Linked DNA regions of Homo sapiens: region 2 is linked to region 1. Evidence: promoter capture Hi-C in 16 types of primary human blood cells and fetal thymus (Javierre and others, 2016). All regions are on one chromosome and are shown on one strand. Each heading gives the region's core, a stretch centred on a gene start or on the middle of the fragment in contact. The rest is flanking DNA. Distances are from core to core; before and after follow the strand shown.

Region 1 (3,928 bases), core at 667-3,166:
GCACGCAGCCCAGGACGTCGGGACCTACTAACCTATTCATCTTACTTGCCCACTCCTGCACATTTCTAAGCTTTCAATATCTTTTTTCTTTCATTTTTTTTTTTTTTGAGAGGGTAGGGTCTCACTTTGTCACCCAGGCTAGAGTACAGTGGCATGATCACGGCTCCCAGGGTCAAGGCATCCTCCTACCGCAGCCTCCCAAGTAGCTGGGACTACAGGCATGCGTCACCAGACCCAGCTAATTTTTTCTTTTCTTTCTTTTTTTTTTTTTTTTGTAGAGACGGGGTCTCATTATGTTGCCCGAGGCTTCAGTATCTTTTCCAAAGCAACATGAAAGAAATGTGACCGTAAATCAATCAGCTTCTTGGTGTGATCTATGTGACGGCTAGGTGATAAACGAGTTGGTCAGAGAAAACTGGAAATATTTCCAAAGCCATGTTTACTCCCTTCACCCACCTGTGAGTCTTCGCCTTGGCTGTTTCCGACTCGGAATGTCCTCGCATTGATCCTCCCAATCACAGCCAGCTGAAACCAGCCTCCTTCCTGACGTATTCAGTAACTTTAGCTGATTGCCATCTCTCCTTCATCTCAACAACCTGTACCACACTCACTGGAGCACTTCGCTTTGCATCTTTAGTCGACCAGTTCAGATATATACAACCTATAAGGTAGGGACGGAGGCTTCTACCTGCCTGTACCCCCTTTGGAGGGCCCACGAATACAGAGCTGAGCACAAAAGATGTTTAAAGGACATTTTGTCAAAAATGTCGCTTACAGGTAGGTCGTTATTAGCAAGGTAGAGCAGCGGTACGGCCGAGTCTACGCTTGGGAATTCATTTGCTGACTCTTATCATTTACTGACTAAAGCAAAGTTACTGAGGCCTCAGTTTCCTCATCTACAACCCGGGGAGATGACCAGTACCCATCACAATCGATTGCTATGAAGATTCAATGATAATGCAGATAAGGCACTTAATACAGTGTCCCCTCACCGTCCACACCACACGGGCACGCCCGCTTATTCCTGAGGACCGGGCTGGGATGTCGCCTCCTTTGTGTAGCCTTCCTACCCTGACTTCGCAGACTGCTCCCACCGCCTGGATCCATGCCCGTCCACCCGCCAGCTCAGGGCTGAACGGCTGAGGCGGGCGCGCGGTGGAGAAAAGAGCTGCAGACTGAGGAAGGTCAGGAAGGAGAAAGGGACACACCAGACGCGGCGTCTGAATCCCCCTCCACCCAGAGGCCCCCGAGCAGCAACTCCGCCCCACCTCCCGCCCGCTCCGCCGGAAGCCGGTCAGCGCCAGCCGGAAGCCCCGCCCCCTAGAGGCACCGCGGACACCGTGCAGCGCTGTTCACCCAGATGCCAGCTGTGACCTTGGCTAAGCCAGTGACTTAACTCGGGCCCGTTCCCCATTCCCACGTTGTTGCCAAGTCTCCAGCCTGGAAAGTAAACGGGCTTCAGGTGTCCTGTTTAGATGCTTAAAATGAGGAACGGCAGGAGCACACACACTGCTGCCACCTCACACCTTTTCACTTCATCCTGACGAAGCTGCAGTTTAGTTTATATTTTAACTCAAAGACGTGTTAGGTTTTGGTTTGATGGCACTCATCCAGCACTTGTGCAGAAAACAAGGTAAAGGGGGCCCATGGGTCTATCAGATAACCTGAACCCGAGACCTCTCAATCTGGAGGAACAGCTTGAAGAAGTCATCTAGAAGCTATAAAGTCACAGAAGCTTCTTATCCTATTGAAAGCAAGACTTCCTATCCAATGGCAATACAAACTTTTACGCAGTAAGGTAAAAAATATAGCCTGTCCATATAGCAACCTATCCATAGTAAGCAAGTTAAAAGACAGGTTCAAGAGGAAGTGTTTCCAACTAGCTTTTCTTGTAGGCCTTCTTCTTCTCAATGACACCCCTCCAGCTTCTGATATATCCTCAAATGCTGCTGCCCACTATAAAAAAAATCTCATCAGTCCTGATTTCAGAAAAATTTTAGACCAACAAATCAGAGGTAAGAGACTGATCCACTGAAAACTAGGGAGTGTCCTAAATCACCACACACAAAACACAGGCTCTTTGTTTCAAGTTTTAATCAAAGCTTGTATATAAGATTACTTTATTCCTGCATCTTCTCAATGGTTTCTTCCTTGTATTTGCCCTTTTCCTTTCCTACTTGGCGAGATTTGGCTTTCCGTTCGAGGATCTTTTTGCGGTCTTTGTCCAGTTTTAGCCTAGTGATAACCACCTGCAGAAAAATAAGAAAAAAACACTCCCAAGCTTTAAATAATCACTAAAACACAAGGGAAAGCCCAACATTCAATACCATTTCCCAAACCTGGGGTAGGTGGATGCCTAATAAGAAAAGATTTTAACTTTTAAAAAACTCCAGAAATCACTCTTTAGCCATCAAACCTGGCTTATTTACTAATTTCCTACCAACAAAGGAGAAAAGGCAAGATGGTATCAGTAATTCTTAAAGCCTCTTCTGTGCTTCATTATAAGATTTGTTTCTTTTTCACTGAGAAATATATGATTCTGCTCTTCTCACTACAGTTTTACAAGCTGTCATATACAAATATATTTGTTTCCAAAGTAACTTCAGGCTGGGTGCGGTGGTTCATGCCCCCAATCCCAGCACTTTGGGAGGCAGAGGCAGGCGGATCACCTGAGGTCAGGAGTTTGAGACCAGTCTGGCCAACACGGTGAAACCCCTTCTCTACTAAAAATACAAAAATTAGCTGGGTATGGTGGCACATGCCTGTAATCCCAGCTACCTGGGAGGCTGAGGCAGGAGAATCTCTGGAACCCTGGGGGGGCGGAGGCTGCAGTGAGCTGAGATGGTGCTATTATTGCACTCCAGCCTGGGCGATCAATCGAGACTCCATCTCAAAAAACAAACAAGTAACAAAACAGCAGGGTGTGGTGAATGCCTACTCAGGAGGCTACTGCGGGAGAATCGCTTGAACCCAGGAAGCAGAGGTTGCAGTGAGCTGAGATCGCACCATTGCACTTCCAGGCTGGGCGACAAGAGCAAAACTCTGTCCAAAACAAAAAAAACCCCACCCCCAAACAGAAAAATAATAAAGTAACTTCAGAATTTTAATGCTAGAAATTAAAGGTAGCATCCACACATAATTCCACCTGCAAAATCTTTAGTGAGAAGATGACAATACGATCTTACTCCAACAGTTCCAATCCTAAAAGACATCCAAATTATGATAAATTTTAGTCTTATGAATGCGAGGAAAGGGTGAAAAGAGGTGCTGGAAATACAGCATGCAGACCAAACAAAAATCTCCACAGTCACTGAACTCATATTCTAGTATAGGGAGCCCGAAAACATTTACAAGTGAATCTACATCACTTTGATAGAGTAAGAAGGCAAGTGTGAGGAGGCCGAGGGGCTTTCTAGAGTGATCAAGCAAAGCCCTACATTTGAACAGAGACCTAAAGTGGTGAGCAATCTATCTATGCACAGGTATCTGGAAGAGAACAGCAAGTTGAAAGGTTCAAAGGCAGGAGATTATCAAGTTTCATAGATGTGTTTCTCAAACTTGAGTAAGAATCAACTGGAGGGCTTATTAAAACATACACCTGGGTCATAAGCCCTAATTTTGCCTCAGTAGGCCTGGGCTCTTAGAATTTATAATTCTACCAAGTTGCTAGGAGGCGAGCAGACTAGAACATATAGAATGGAAAAAGATGTCAGAAGTAAGGGAAGATCAGTTAAGGTCTTTATTTTTTTTCTTTTTTTTTTTTTGAGATGGCGTTTTCACTCGTTGCCTAGGCTGAAGTGCAATGGTGCGATCTCGGCTCACTGCAACCTCCGCCCAATATACATAATGGGACAGGCATGGTGGCTCATGCCTGTAATCCCAGCACTTTAGGAGGCTGAGGCAGGCAAATCACCTGAGGTCAGGAGTT
Region 2 (3,928 bases), core at 844-3,343, 150 kb before region 1:
GCCCAGGTTCAAGCAGAGACTGGAAATGCGCACTTCCGTCAAGGAGGGAGCAAGCTAGGCCAAGTCTGAGCGCTAATGAGCATACTGAGCAGAGCAGATAATGGCCACTTTAGGTACACGTTTGAACTCTAAGTTGCTTGAAGTAAAATGGAAACTTAGAATGCGAGCTGGAGAGGAAGGCCAAACTCTCCTCCCCTCCTCCTTTCCCTCTTTTTTATAGCTCCATCCCAGGGACCAGGACGGATTTAATGAAAGCAAAAAGATAGAAGTTTCAAAACTGCTAGTACTCTCCCCGTCGGGGAATCGAACCCCGGTCTCCCGCGTGACAGGCGGGGATACTCACCACTATACTAACGAGGAGGGACCTGTAGAGACCTTTCTCCGAATCCTTGATCTGAGACTTTACACTCTGCGTGCTGACAGCAGGGTTCCTAGGGGTTCTGTTCTTCCAACCACTGATAAACGCTGACCAGAAACCGTAGGTGTATTTCAGGCACCAATCGTCAGATGGAGTGACCGAAAGAGACAGAGTGCCTTCAGGACTGCAGAGAACCAAGTTTTGACAGTTCCTGGGCTCTCCCGAACACTGTCATCCACAACTATAGATTGACGCGTGTCAATCAAAGCGAAACCAGGCTGTGGTGGCCGAGTTGAGACACCAGGAAGGAAGTCAGGAAGCAGAAAGGGAGGGACCTGCCCAAGTCTGGGCGTGCCTCGTCTCTTCCTGACATGCCAGGCGGGTCTGGGGATTGAGATGCTTTCTGCTACCGCGGTGCCACAAAAGAGCTTACTGTACATTGATGACTTACAGTCAAGCCTCCTGCAGCGCTGGTCAGGTAACCTATTCCTTGAAGACACTCTTGTCTCAGTAAAAGGTAAAGGAGGGCTCGTCCGGGATTTGAACCCGGGACCTCTCGCACCCGAAGCGAGAATCATACCCCTAGACCAACGAGCCGACGTGCGGACGTTGCCGCGAACCGCCTTAGAGGTCGTGCCAGGCTTGCTGTAGTGCTGGGTCCACTATGCATGGCGGAACGGTCCGGGCGCACGCTCACGGACCAGCCTCCCCCAGGCCGAGTATTTTGGAGCACTGGGCTGGGAATCTCTTGGCTCCGGGCCGCGAGCTCCGGCTCCTCCCAGGAAATAGCGTCAAGGAAGTGGGAGGGAGTGGCCTCGGCCTCGCCCCCGCGCCGCCTTGCACGACTGCCTTGAACACCCGGGTTGTTGCTTCCTTTGGTTACCGACTTGGTGCCATTCCGTAACCTGGGATCTTGACACTTCCTGCCTCCGCCTGCGGTCCTTGGACCTAGCTCTTCGTTGCAGAGCTTTGAAGAGAAGCGGTGGAATTGCTTGCTTTCGGGACGGGCAGGAGAAATCACTAGGGGAACACCAGTGCCCCGTGTCTGTCTATCCTCCTGGGCTAACGGGCAGGGCAAACCCTGGGCCAGACCCATCGATAGTCCACGGGTTCCCCAGACCGCATGGCAGTACCCAAGCGAGGGAAAGAGGGAACGATTTCTGGGGCCCAGAAGACCCACGGAAGAGGGCGTTATTGAGCTGGGTGACTGGAGGGGGACAGGCTTTCCACCCTGCAGTGGGGCGGGGCGCAAGGCCAGGCGACTAGTCTCATGGCTTCCGGACTGTAAGATCAGGTTACCCCTACCCTACAGTCTAACCTCTGCTCCCCAGTCCCCTCCTAGAATGGCCTAGAAGGGAGACCCTCCTGCCTGCCTCCTAAGACCCCCCGAAGGCTCTGAGGCACGTGGCCGCATGAATGTGGTCGAAGGCCTGTAGACCCGGTTTGGGGACTTAGCAGTGTCCCCGGGACTGCCCAGTGAGCCTCTGCGCTCTTAAACACTCACCATGCTGCTCTTACTCCGGAGCTGCCCAGAGTCCCAGCAAGATCTGGTGGGGTCGGTAGCAGACCACGTGTCCTGCCTTTCCTCAGCTCAGTGCCTGTTCTGGGGAGTCCTCCCAGCGGGGTTCTGGCCTGCATCGGCCCTGGACCAGCCTGGTGTCATCTGTGGAACCATTTTGTTCTACACCCCAGTTGTGTGATTTGTGGGGCCAGGCCGTTCCTAATGCCCAACCCATAGATACGATGACGGGGCTTTCAGTGAAGGATTCAGCTCCTATTTGTCTTTCCCAGGTTCCCCTGGACAGACAGTGGGGAAGGGCAGCAGAAGTTAGCCCAGCCTTTCCCATTAGTGTCCCAAGTCTTTGAGATGGGTAAAGAGGTTCTCAGGGCTGATCTGGCATCTCCTCCCCCATTCCTACCCTTTTCCAATTCCTGTCTCCCTCCCCTTGGGCCCCAGCTTTCTCTGCAAAATAATCCAGTCACCTCTTCCCTGGCCTCAGGCACTTAAACGCTGCAGAAGGGGAGGCCTAAATCCTTTATGACCCTTATGAAAGCTATGTCCCTCTTCACCGGGCACAGTGGCTCACACCTGTAATCCCAGCACTTTGGGAGGCTGAGGTGGGTGGATCACAAGGTCAGGAGTTCAAGACCAGCCTGACCAAAATGGTGAAACCCCGTCTCTACTAAATATACAAAAATTAGCCAGGCGTGGTGGCGGGCGCCTGTAATCCCAGCTACTCGGGAGACTGAGGCAGGAGAATTGCTTGAACCCGGGAAGCGGAGGTTGCAGTGAGTCAATATTGTGCCATTGCACTCCAGCCTGGGTGACAGAATGAGACTCCCTCCGTCTCAAAAAAAAAAAAAAAAAAAAAAAGCTATGGCCCTCTTCCTAAACATGTATACAATCCAGGGAGTTCACACATAATCCCATCCACATACCCCACACTTTATTTTTTCCTCAGAAAAGTGCGTACATAGACCCCACTTTTAATAACCAAGAACTAACAAACAGCTGATCATTCGTTTATTTTATTTCATTTTTTTGAGACGGAGTTTCACTCTTGTTGCCCAGGCTGGGATGCAGTGGCGCGATCTCGGCTGACAACACCTCCTCCCCCCTCCAAGGTTGAAGCGATTCTCTTGCCTCAGCCTCCCAAGTAGCTAGGACTGCAGGCGCCTGCCACCACGCCTGGCTAATTTTTTGCATTTTTAGTAGAGACGAGGTTTCACTATGTTACCAGGTTTCACTATGTTGGCCAGGCTGCTGGTCTGGAACTCCTGACCTCGTGATCCGCCCACCTTGGCCTCCCAAAGCGCTGGGATTACAGGCGTGAGCCACCGCGCCCGGCCATACATGGCAAGTTTCTACATGGTGTTTCAGACTTAGCTGATCACCCTCTACCCTCAGGCCAGATTAGATTCCACTTCTCCCTGTTCTTACAGTGCCGTTAGTGCTGAAAGGGGAACGTGCCTTGTTCATTTGGTTCTGCACAGGGTCCAGCCCAGTGCTTGGCACAAACGTGGTCTCGGCAGTGCTGCATCCCTGGCTTGACCTGGAGGTAGCAATTCCTTCAAGCCATTTGCTCATCTTACATTGGTTCGTGGGCCATGGAATGGTGTCGAGAGCTTTCTGCCTATCTTCCAAGGAGGTTTAGGTCCTGCCAAGAGCTCACAGATCCTATTTCTTGCCTTATCTCTGGCATTTATTTCTTCCTTAACCAGCCTAGCTTCAGTGCTCCAGAAAAGTGCCCTGCCCTTCCACACCAGGATCCCTAGCGACTCCCGAATGATGCTTTCTTGGACTCTGTTCACATGGCCTCAGCCCTTCTGCACCCTGCTGCACGAAACCTGGTGCCAGGCCAGGCCAGGCCAGCCGGATCCCTGCTTACTCCTTACCCTGACATCCCGCTGGTGGAGAGGGATGGAGGTAACTGCAAGTGAAAGACCAGTTAGAGGACCGCATCTGGAAGCTGTGCCAAATTTTAAATACTGTATATTTAAATATATATTTTTATATTATATACTATATATATAACATTATGAGCCACCAAACCCAAAGAACTATAATGA

Evidence for each region. The method cuts DNA at HindIII sites, captures the fragments that hold promoters and counts their contacts. A CHiCAGO score of 5 or more calls a contact.
Region 2: the fragment with the promoter of LINC00324 here is called in contact with a fragment that was not itself captured in region 1 in 1 of 17 cell types (erythroblasts); the score reaches 5.9 in erythroblasts.

The regions. Positions count from the first base shown.
Region 1 is chr17:8,375,444-8,379,371 of GRCh38, forward strand. KRABD2 (KRAB domain containing 2) reads right to left here and starts at 1,261. Exons shown (of 2, transcript NM_001304947.3): 1 at 457-1,261. RPL26 (ribosomal protein L26) reads right to left here. Exons shown (of 4, transcript NM_000987.5): 4 at 2,073-2,249. The coding sequence ends at 2,121. RefSeq lists an enhancer at 900-1,451 and a silencer at 1,196-1,395. The HindIII fragment of the contact is 367 bases long and covers 1,734-2,100 here.
Region 2 is chr17:8,221,950-8,225,877 of GRCh38, forward strand. It overlaps LINC00324 (long intergenic non-protein coding RNA 324), which reads right to left and starts at 2,094. Exons shown (of 3, transcript NR_026951.1): 1 at 1,863-2,094; 2 at 344-1,325. It overlaps CTC1 (CST telomere replication complex component 1), which reads right to left. Exons shown (of 23, transcript NM_025099.6): 23 at 2,866-3,928. TRP-CGG1-3 (tRNA-Pro (anticodon CGG) 1-3) reads right to left here and starts at 955; the gene lies at 884-955. TRD-GTC2-11 (tRNA-Asp (anticodon GTC) 2-11) reads right to left here and starts at 360; the gene lies at 289-360. RefSeq lists enhancers at 1-67, 448-647, 970-1,711, 1,258-1,387, 1,638-1,877 and silencers at 328-397, 858-907. The HindIII fragment of the contact is 13,535 bases long and covers 1-3,928 here.